Linked DNA regions of Homo sapiens: all the other regions are linked to region 1. The links are contacts of gene promoters, found by promoter capture Hi-C in human tissues and cell types (Jung and others, 2019). All regions are on one chromosome and are shown on one strand. Each heading gives the region's core, a stretch centred on a gene start or on the middle of the fragment in contact. The rest is flanking DNA. Distances are from core to core; before and after follow the strand shown. Region 1 holds the start of CTSL (cathepsin L). Region 2 has its middle 6.0 kb from the start of MIR4289. Region 3 has its middle 100 kb from the start of LINC02834.

Region 1 (3,923 bases), core at 999-3,498:
CTCTCTCCAATCCACAGATCTGGGGGCCTCATAAAACAGAGGTTCCTGGAACACTTTCCCCTTCCTGGGCTTACGGTTTTGAAAGCCATTCATCACCTGCCTGAATTCTTCACTGGTCTTCAAGGAAAAGGAAATAAAATGTTGAAAAGCAAGAGATTACCTTAGTAAAGAACCGAAGAGAGGAAGCACAGAGCTCGGCAGTCCACAGCACACTTACCATGTCTCCAAAGGCGTTCATGGCCATTGTGAAGCTGTGTTTCCCTTCCCTGTATTCCTGATTGTGCAGTTCAATCATCTTCATGTTCTTCTCCCACACTGCTCTCCTCCATCCTTCTTCATTCTAGAGGCAAACATGTAACTGATGCTCTTTACTTCTACCTAAAACCCAACTCATCCTCACCAAGTGAATCTGCAGACAGAGATGGAAGAGAAACCATGGCAAGGGAAGGCTTGACACCTCTGGGGATGCTGTTCTCCAAACTGAGACACAACAAGGATGAATGTCCACATTGTGCTCATAATCCACGCCATTAGGTTATTACATTAGGCTATTGGTAAAAGCTGGCCTCTAGAAGCTACTCTCTGACTAAAACTTCTCAACAGCCAGGACTATTCTTTCTGGGGAAGTTTCACTAACCATGCCGTATAATCTGTTGTGCATCGCCTTCCACTTGGTCCACTGTGCCTCTAAACTGTGATCAAATGTTAGAGTAGCTGAGGCAATTCCCAGGCAAAAGGCAGCAAGGATGAGTGTAGGATTCATGTTTTAAAACCTAGGAAGGGAACAAAAATGAGGATCTGATTAGACCAATCCTAAAAAGCCATCTTACTGCCCCCTGAAAAATTAGGGCCACCATGGTAGAATAAAAATATTTAAATTATTCTCCCAAGCATTTACCCAAGGACTGTGGAAGAGGCCAAGGATGTGCCTGGAGAAAAACAGGGCACGTGGAGGTACTGGATGGACTCACCAAAATGAAAAGCAGCCTGTCCAGAGCTGTAGGAGCTGAAACAGTTTATGCGATGACAATTTAGGTTATGAGAACGGTATGAAACTACCTTGTGTGTGAGAAGCTTAAGGCAACAACTAGGAAACCGGGAAACGGTTGATCCAGGTTTTGTACCAATCGCAAAAAATCCAGGTTTCGTGCCCAGGCAAAACCTCACTAATGATAAGGTGGGATTCCCAAGTAGGGACAAAGAGATCCCCAAGAGTTAGGAGGCCTTCACACATCTTCCTGACTAACAAACACCAAAAGCTGAGATAAGTTTTCCAATCTCTCCTATTTATTTATTTATTTATTTATTTATTTATTTATTTATTTTTTGAGATGGAGTCTTGCTCTGTGGCCCAGGCTGGAGTTCAACGGCGCGATATCGGCTCACAGCAACCTCTGCCTCCCGGGTTCAAGCCATTCTTCCTCAGCCTCTTGAATAGCTGGAACTACAGGCGTGCGCCGCCTCGCCCGTCTAATTTTGTATTTTCAGTAGAGACGGGGTTTCACCATGTTGGCCAGGCTGGTCTCGAACTACTGACCTCAGGTGATCCGCCCACCTCAGCCTCCCAAAGTGCTGGGATTACAGGAGTGAGCCACCGCGCCGCCCCAACCTCTCCTTAAATGAAACCTTTCTGAAATGCTTTCCCAGGAAAAACTGGGAAGGAGAGCACGCACTGCTCCCTCCTTCATTCACTTGGGCCTGTGCTGCCGACACCCCAAACTGCTCCCCTAAATCAGGGACGGGGTCATATGGCCGCACGCGGGAAGCCAGCGCCCTGCAGCCAGCTTCCAGGGCTCCAGGCGTGGCAGGGCCGGGGACATGACGCCTGCGCCACACACTGGCTGTAGCGGTCAGAGGATGTTTGCGGTGACGCCAGCAGGAGTACCGCTGTCTGGCGTGCGGGGACTGAGCTTCCCTGTCTGGCCGGGCCAGGCCCTGAGTCGGCGCGGCGCGGCCTGGCTGCGGTACCTGTGTCCACCCGGCTCGGAGGCTGGCCTGCCCGCTCAACCAGTCACGCGCCTCCGCGGGGTCCTCAACTGCCCTCCCCGGCTTCCCCACCTCAAGGCCAGCAGAGTTCGGGGTAGACGCTCTCGTTGCCAGGGCTGGTGCACACCTACTCGACCGCGTCCTCTCTTCCAGTCCCTGTCCGGCCACAGCTGGGCCTGGCCGGCGGCGCTTTCCTGCTGCGGTCGTAGCTGCGCAGGCGCACTCCACGGATGCCGCTCAAGGTTGCGGAGGTCGCGGTTCTGGCCCAGCTTCGCCTGACTCTGCTTCTAAAACCTCGGGTCTGGGTTCGGCCGGCACCGCCCCGCCGCCTGGCTGCGCTGCGATTGGCTGTGCCGGCAGCTGGGCGGGGACTCTGGGTGCTCTGATCCCTGGCGCGGTTCGTGGCTTGTTTACTGACTGTCCCAGAGCTGGGCGTGCCTGCCTCAGTGGACCTGGAGGAAGCAGAGCTGGTGCCCCGGGGCGGCGCAGAGTAGGGTCGGGCGTCTCCCTGGAGCGCTCGAGTCAACTAAGTACACGACTTACTGCACTGGGCGAGTGGCTCCTGAAAAGACGTTTACCGCAAGCCCTGTGTGGACTGTTTCAGCCTAACCTTGCTATTCCTTAGTCCTGGAATTTTTGGTCCGCAGAGCCGAGAGTCAAGTGTACTCTAGTCCAGTGGCTCCTGTTTAGTCCACAGCAAACGTGGGGCCGGGTGGACGAACGCAGAGCCCGCGGGCAGAAGCCTTATCTCCCACTTAAGGGTGGGTGCAGCTGGGCTTTAGAAGAATCTGGTAAGGAAAGGCATCCCCAAAACACGAGATGCTATCGTCAAGACCAGACCCTAGGAGGGAGGAGACTGGCTGCGTCTCCAGAGAGCGCGGGCGTTTTGTCAAGCATCCTTTCCAGACTCCTCCATTCAGGGATTCTTCCTTCTCCCACGTCTTACCCAAAACCAACAGAAATGAGTTATTTACAGAAACATTTGGTTGACAGGAGAAAAGCAGTTGAGAACATTAGAAGCTGCTTTTATTCGCCCACTCTCTAGGCTATGGATTATATCTTCCTTGGTAACCAAGTCGTTCTCTTGAGATTTAAGAAATTTAATGACATTTAATGTCAGGATTTAAGATACAGAGAATGGAGAAATGTTGTAGATAGAGGAAAAATATGTATCTTAATCTGTATAATGTAGATATTAATTTATGTAATTAAGGATTTAAGGAACAAAACCCACAAACATTCTAAACTTTTGTCATTTCATTTTTTATTACATAAAAACATTCATTGTAGAAAATACCTTTCGGGGAAAAAAATAATTACCTCTGCCTTTACCCCATAACCTTTTCGTATGCATATTTTGACTTTGTTAAAAATGAACAAAGTCCATTGATTTCTATTGAAGATTAAACTGATAACTCTTTTAGAAGCACAATCACCTATAGTTTTTTAAGTGGTAAAATATACCTCACATAGCAAGTACCATTTTAACCAACTTTGAGTTCAGTAGCATTAAGTACCTTCACATTGTGTAACCATTACTACTGTTTATTCCCAGAGCTTGTTTATCTTCCTAAACTGAAACTGTATCCATTGAATAATAGTTCCCCATTCCCCCTCTCCTAGCTCAGGTATCTACCATTATATTTCCTGTCTGCAGGAATTTGTTTACTATTTTGGAGATTATTCCTCTTTTTTTTTTTTTGAGACGGAGTCTGGCTCTGTTGTTCAGGCTGGAGTGCAGTGGCGCAATCGCAGCTCACTGCAATGTCTGCCTCCTGGGTTCAAGTGATTCCTCTGCCTCAGCCTCCAGAGGAGCTGGGACTACAGGCGCGCACCACCACGCCTGGCTAATTTTTGTATTTTTAGTAGAGATGGGGTTTCACCATATTGACCAGACTGGTCTTGAACTCCTGACCTCGTGATTCGCCTGCCTTGGC
Region 2 (3,673 bases), core at 688-3,187, 1.0 Mb before region 1:
AGACTGTCAGTACAAGAGGCAGAGATTTCTTTTATATCTTGTGCAAACTCTAATTGCTGGTATGTAAAAGAGTATATAGATAGACACACAAAATACTTTTGAAAAACTAAACACTCGCCTACAACTCAACCGCAAATATCCAATACAGCATCCCAGGTGTCCCACTTATTTGCTTCCTGGGGCTGCCACAACAAAGAACCACACAAGGGGGCGCTAAAACAACAGAAATCTCTTATCCCACAGTTCTGGAGGCTGGAACCCCATGAGCAAGGTGTCAGCAGGGTTGGTTCTGCTAAGGACTGTGAGGAAAAATGGGCTCAGGCCTCACTCCTTGCCTTGCAGGTGGCAGTCTTCTCCCTGTGCCCTCACATGGTCATCCTTCCATGCATGTGTCCTCATCCCCTCTTCTTGACAAGGACACCAGTCATATTGCGTTAGGGTCCACCCTGACAGTCTCATTTTAATCACCTCTTTATCCTATCTCCAACTCCAGTCATATTCTGAGGTACTGGGGTTAGGTGTCCAACAAATGAATTTGTGGGGAAGTCACAATTCACCCATAACCCCCGGCCCCTGCGTAGAGCATCCCCCTCCAACTCTGAAGCTGATGAGGTGTTCACTCCCAACCCATCACTTGCACAGGACGCTTCTAAGGCCATAGGTGGGACCCCCAACAACGTGTTTGCGTGTTCTTGCTTCTGTGAGATTTGAAAAGAGCAGTGTTGTCATGGCAACTGGTTTCCAATGCTCATTCCCACTGCCCTTCACTCACACTGTCCCTCATGTTGGGGGACATCAGAGTGGCCGCAGGCATTTCGAGATCCAGCTAATGGGAAGGTTCAAGGGACATGCTTAATTGGACTGTTGGGGATATTTTCACAGCTTAGTCACTTCCATGTATAAGTAACTTACTGCTAGCCAATCCAGAGGAACGACTTCGTGGAATGGTACCCTGCAGACTGTGCCAGTCCTCTCGTGTCTCAGTGTGAAGGTACTCTTATTTCCTACAGCTCCATACATGTGGGTGGTGGAAGAGAAACATGCTTCAAAGGGCCAGGAGCTAGTCTATAGAAAATTATCTCAGTCTTTACATTTATAAGGAGTAAGCAGTTCTCACTGATGTCTAGGCAAAAGCTAAGTTTTCTGGTCAGGAAAATGCTTAAAGTGCAGTAAATTTAATTATAAACACAACATATTTTTCTCCATTTTGATGAAAGTCACGTGCAATAAAACTTATCAGAACTCCTCTTTTGTCAGGCAAAGCACCATAGCATTACTTTTAAAAGGCACATCTTACCCACCACAGAGTAGCAATTGGCAAATTAGGAATTCTAATGAATCTTGTCCTCAAGAAGTAGACAGTTCCTGATGAAACACGCAAATCACCACCAATGCAGTACAATTCCTCAAGAAGCAAGTATTTCAGAGGTGTGTCAACTTATAAAAATGTTATTTTTATGATACTGTGAAATCCATGGTATTTGTTCAAAAATACATAATTTACTGTGATTTCTTTTCTCATTCTAAGTAACCTTTCTCAGGTGAGTTTGCCTTTATAATGTTATGTCCTGGATCTGCCCCCACCTGGCACATTACAATTCCACATCCTTAGTAACCATGTATTTCAAGGATGTAATGTCCTCCCTACATTTGGGGATCAACCATGTGACTGGGGTCCAGGGAGTGGCAGGAGCTGAGACGGACTGGGGGCAAGAGACCACAGCACAAGGAAGACTCAGCTAGATGTGGCAAGGCCCCTGAACCGAGTGACTTATGCATCCTGAATACCATTTGCACCTTGTGTCCACAGATGGCTCTACCACATACAAAGGGCACATCCCTGGGCTGATCTCATTGTCCTGGGAGCCTCGTTTCTTTATTTCTGGAAAGCAGGCAGTGACTGTAAGTAGCTTCATTGGGTTTGGGTGAAGATTAAGTGAGAACAAAATATGACTGTGCTTTGGAAGCTCACATGTGCATTTGACATAAAGGGTTGTTTTTCCAACTGTGGGGAGGTGTGCAAAAATGTGCATTTTTAAAATGATTATTAGCAAATTTGTTTCTGGGTAGAGCAACAGTGAGAAATTGGGGAAGAGAGAGGAGAGAAATGTCAAGATAGCCAGGAGGGAGGGCCAGTGCTTCAGAGATCTTGGTCCTAGAGCACCCTGGGGTGTGGCCATCAGAAAGGGGTAAGACAAAGAGATTCCAGAGAGAAGCTATCTCTATCTAGACAGGAGGCTGGGTGGCCCCCTGTGCCCCAGGCAATGATATCTGGACGACCCCTAATATGATTAGCTTCTTAAAAGCCCTTTTAAAAATGTGTTCAGCTGGAAAATAAACTCTCTTCCATGGTTAAAAAAGACAGAAAGTCCGACTTTTAACTGGCAGATGGCTCACTTAGATTCCGACAAGGCCCGTTTGAACTCATGCTACTTAGAGATGCATAAATTGTTGTTTTTGTTTTCTCCCATTAACTGCTCAGGATTGCAAAATGAGGGATAGTTAGCAGAAATCATTTCACCGTTAATGAAGCATACATTAAAACATTCCATAATGTAAAAATATATCAAAACATTACACTGTACCCAAATATATACAATTATTATTTGTCAATTAAGTAAGCTTAAAAATGTGAAATAAAAACAGACATTTGGAATTTGGGGGCAGGGGAATAGGATGGGTTAAGTGAAAAAGTGATGCTTTACGTAAGAATCCTAAGTCTGAACTTTGAGAGACTGCACAATGGAAAATGCTGGAAAGTCCCCAGTGCTCTGGATCATGTAGGATAAAACTGGTTTCTGAAATAATTGGGCCCATGTGTTGTTATCAGAGACCTAGATCTTTTATTGACATTCTTTCTGTTAAAAAAAAAATGTGCAGCCTAATACTTGCAAAGGAAATGTGATTGCTCCATTTGCATTTCTGTCCATACCACATGGAAGTCATTTTAAAGTAAGTGGTTTAGAATTAGGGCGGGAAAGGAGTTCCAGCTTTTACATCAGAGGGGGCAACCTCTCTCTGCTGGTGCCGTCCAGCAGTCAGGCTCCTTCCATTGTAAATAAGCCATGCCCTGCTACAGGAGAGTTCTTGAAGTTGAGCCCAAACCAGCGTCGTCTTCATGTCACTCACTCCTTCGATTGAAAAATTATCTGCTGCTTAATCCCAAAAATATCATCACAGGTGCTAAAAGATGAATGAAGAAACATATAAGAGAAAGTTAAAATCACCTGGACAGACCATCAATGGCAAAACCTTCCAACACAGGATGGTTCCCAACAATTGTGGTTGTTTACATTTTTCTAGGAAAGAAAAGAATCGATTTGAGAACTCTCTGGAGAAATTCTTCTAAAGCAGAATCTTGTGTCCAGAGAAACTTTAATTTCTTCTTTAAATGCCCACATTTCAAAGGATTACTTAGGAAAAAAGGTAAAACAAAAAACAACTACAAAAAGGCTTTTTCTGTTATCAAATTTATGAAATCCTAATACACATTAAAAATATTTCAAAAACTTGTTTCCACCCCTTCACTTAAAATATTGTGTATAGGCTGAAGTAGTTAACAAAGGCTATTTTCAGGAATCAAATCCCATCCTGAGTGCTGTACTGGGCGTTGTGAAATGCACAGGAAGCAGCTGTAGACTCCACGCGGTCGCCTGCCTGGTCTGGGAGCATC
Region 3 (3,764 bases), core at 905-3,404, 1.1 Mb after region 1:
GGGCAAAGGACATGAACAGACACTTCTCAAAAGAAGACATTTATGCAGCCAAAAAACACATGAAAAAATGTTCATCATCACTGGCCATCAGAGAAATGCAAACCAAAACAACAATGAGATACCATCTCACACCAGTTAGAATGGCAATCATTAAAAAGTCAGGAAACAACAGGTGCTGGAGAGGATGTGGAGAAATAAGAACACTTTTACACTGTTGGTGGGACTGTAAACTAGTTCAACCATTGTGGAAGTCCGTGTGGCGATTCCTCAGGGATCTAGAACTGGAAATACCATTTGACCCAGCCATCCCATTACTGGGTATATACCCAAAGGACTATAAATCATGCTGCTGTAAAGACACATGCACACGTATGTTTATTGCAGCATTATTCACAATAGCAAAGACTTGGAACCAACCCAAATGTCCAACAATGATAGACTGGATTAAGAAAATGTGGCACATATACACCATGGAATACTATGCAGCCATAAAAAATGATGAGTTCATGTCCTTTGTAGGGACATGGATGAAATTGGAAATCATCATTCTCAGTAAACTATCGCAAGAACAAAAAACCAAACACCACATATTCTCACTCATAGGTGGGAATTGAACAATGAGATCACATGGATACAGGAAGGGGAATATCACACTCTGGGGACTGTTGTGGGGTGGGGGGAGGGGGGAGGGATAGCAATGGGAGATATACCTAATGCTAGATGACGAGTTAGTGGGTGCAGCGCACCAGCATGGCACATGTATACATATGTAACTAACCTGCACAATGTGCACATGTACCCTAGAAATTAAAGCATAATAAAAAAAAAAAAGAAAGCAAAAAAAAAAAAAACTAGCCGGGCATGGTGGCATGCGCCTGTAGTCCCAGCTGCTTGAGAGGCTGAGGCAGGAGAATCACTTGAACCCGGGAGGCGGAGGTTGCAGTGAGTCGAGATCATACCACTGCACTCCAGCCTGGGCAACAGAACGAGACTCCAGCTCACAAAAAAAAAAAAGAAAGAAAGAAAGAAAGAAATCCATTTTCAATTTTCTACATCGAGTCATTGGGAAGTGATTTCATAATTATAATCTTGTATTGTTAATTCTGTATTATAAAATAGGAATAAATGCGTATTTATTTATACCCTACTGTTTTCCAAAGTTTATTTAAGATAGTTTGCAGGAGTAACATAAAGAACAATGAAAGAGCATGAAAAAGCTCTAGATAAGAGAAATAATAAAGAGAAAACAAAAGTATGTATTAAGTTGAGCCAGAAATAAGCTTAGTACTAATTATAGGTCACATGGGGCCATAAATTTGTCTTCTGGCAGCATGGAGAGAGAAACCCGATGGTTATGGGAAAGTGGTCATTTAATCTGTCATAGTCACACATATCGTTAAAGCCATTAGAAGCATTAAGAACCATCCATGTCCAACCCTATCATTTCAAGATGTGACAGGTGGGGCTCTGGAGCCTATGAGTATGATCACAGAGCTAGTTAGGGCAGAATAGAAGTCAACTTTCAGAAGTGTGGAAATTATTCCGAGAGGAGATTAAGAATCAAAATTAAACCAATGAATAGAAATCACCTTTCTAAGGATTTGAAACCTCCTTTGAGAGCAGTGGAATTTCTTCTGCAAAAGGCACCACAGAGATGCGAATTAAGGAGTATTCTAAGCTTCTAATTAGATTACCTTAATTGTTGTTGCTACATTCAACTATAATACCTGAAAGAATGCTTGAAATCCAGCATAGTCTTTAGGAGATGGTGTGTTTCTTGTATATGATTCAGCATCAGCAATAAACTATATCTGCACATCTTACCACCATCACTAGTGAGTTCACAGAAAGATCCATTTTCTGATACTTTGGGACAGGAATTTTTGGTTTGTTTGGGTTTTTATTCATTTGAGGGAGTGTTGTAACCACATATCCTCACCCTGGTGGAAAAATGTGTTTTCACTAAAACTATAATTTACTACTTCAAGTCTGCCCCCTTCATAACAAAATGGTGACTCTACAGGAAAGGCCTAATTATGAAACTTTGTTGTTGTAATGACAGAAGAAAGGAATAATATTTAAGCATTGTTAACTTGGTGCAAAGAATCCTTGTTAGAGCTGGTGTTACAGCTGTAATGCCCAATTGATATAACAGCAAGAAAGAAATGGGGCATCCTGCTCATGTGATTGAGATAAAGACTAAGCAGAATTGAAGGAGGGCCACCAAAGACATTTTGTGAGAGATTTGGAAGGTGGAAGTGAAGCAGCCTGATAATATTACACTCAGAAGGTTGGTGGAGGTCTCGTAGGTGCTACTGCAGCTCCCGCTTCTCTCTGTGGAACTTCCTATTGACACAGGCAGCAGCTGGGCCTGCAGCTGCTCCATTTCCCCAGATTCTCCTTCACCTTCTCCAACCCCTGAGCCAGGTACCTTCTTTGCTAGAGACCACCCACATCATTGAGGTGGAAAGAGCTGAGAGACTGACAAGAGCTCTAGTCCATCCCCATGGTCTTGCTCCTGCTGGTGGGTCCCAGCTTGTCCTTGCTGTCCCCACTTTGATGCTCTGTCCCTTCCAACTGTTTCAACACCAGGCACAAAGACCATCTCACCGGCTCCCACAAGGGCCCAAGGGCAAATCCCTCTCATATGCCCTCATAAATGCCTAGTTGTTCTGCTTTGGGACAGCAGTGAGGGAATTCTAGCCAATAAATACAGACGGAATCACGGAATTAGAAAGTCATCCTTTTCCAGCCCTTAATGATCATCAGTGGTTAATAGAACCATCAGGTGAAAGACTGATAAGGAACTGTAGAATGGATGGGTCAGGCTGGCAATACCTTAAGCCACTGATCAACATTAACCTCAAACAATGGCTATCAAATAGTAGTCACCTCCTACTGTGAGGCAATAGGGAGGAGAGAGCCCCCATCTGTGATACATTCTAGCCACAAACATTGAACCTGAATCTAATCAAGGCTCCAGGTGAAGCTAACAGTTTACAGGAAACACAGGGCTAGAAGAACATGGCAAATGACACCAGCAGATACAATCATCAAAGTCCAGAATGTAGGGAACTGGACAGAACAGTTTCCTCCCAGCCTAGATACCTTGGGGCCATCTTTGACTCTTCAAATCCCTACATGTTGATTCCCAAAATATTTCCAAACCCTGTTATTATTCCTTTGCTATCTCTCTTAAATATACCCTTTCTCTTCCTTCTTGAGAATTATGTCACTAATTTATTTTTTGTTCTTATGAGCAGTCTCTTCATTTTAATAGTGTTTATTATACTTTTTAAGTAAATATTAATGTGTGTTTGTTTAATGTGTGTCTCCCTCACTCAATTCTAAGAGCCCTACGAAGGCAAAGGACCTGACTCTTGTTCTCATCTATTACCCTGACATACGTTAAGTATGCCACAGTGATATATTCAAGACTTAATGCTTGATTGACAGAATGAATAAATGAATTCATGCACCAATCTTTCAGGCTTCTATGTTATTTCCGGACTTTTTTCATTTTCAATTCATCTTACATACTCTTACAGTAGGTCACTAGTTAGACATGAGAGCAAGGCAGGAGAGGGCTCCCCCCAGCCCCCACCCCGTCCCCCATCAGAAATGTCAGGTGACAATCAGATGATGGTCAGGCAGTTGTTAAACTGCCTCACTAAAAAATAATTGGCCACAGCTGGCACCAGGGAAAGGCCATTTCCACTGACATCTTATTTGTCAGACCAAGCATAAATGTTAATCTCACCCCA

The links. The method cuts DNA at HindIII sites, captures the fragments that hold promoters and counts their contacts. A contact is called where the count stands out against the background at its distance.
Region 2: a fragment that was not itself captured here is called in contact with the fragment with the promoter of CTSL in region 1 in 1 of the 25 tissues and cell types used here (lymphoblastoid cells).
Region 3: a contact is called between a fragment that was not itself captured here and the fragment with the promoter of CTSL in region 1, in 1 of the 25 tissues and cell types used here (mesenchymal stem cells).

The regions. Positions count from the first base shown.
Region 1 is chr9:87,724,444-87,728,366 of GRCh38, reverse strand. CTSL (cathepsin L) reads right to left here and starts at 2,248. Exons shown (of 8, transcript NM_001912.5): 1 at 1,969-2,248; 2 at 638-773; 3 at 218-340; 4 at 1-117. The coding sequence starts at 763. RefSeq lists promoters at 931-1,351, 931-1,970, 2,175-2,385, 2,224-2,405, 763-2,405 and 7 more, cis regulatory regions at 1,352-1,585, 1,586-1,731, 2,307-2,308, 2,331-2,334, 2,345-2,348 and 12 more and an enhancer at 1,936-2,457. The HindIII fragment of the contact is 7,957 bases long and covers 1-3,923 here.
Region 2 is chr9:88,738,083-88,741,755 of GRCh38, reverse strand. No RefSeq gene overlaps it. Among named protein-coding and RNA genes, the nearest start is that of MIR4289, 6.0 kb to the left of the region's middle. The HindIII fragment of the contact is 3,956 bases long and covers 1-3,673 here.
Region 3 is chr9:86,603,121-86,606,884 of GRCh38, reverse strand. No RefSeq gene overlaps it. Among named protein-coding and RNA genes, the nearest start is that of LINC02834, 100 kb to the left of the region's middle. The HindIII fragment of the contact is 4,548 bases long and covers 1-3,764 here.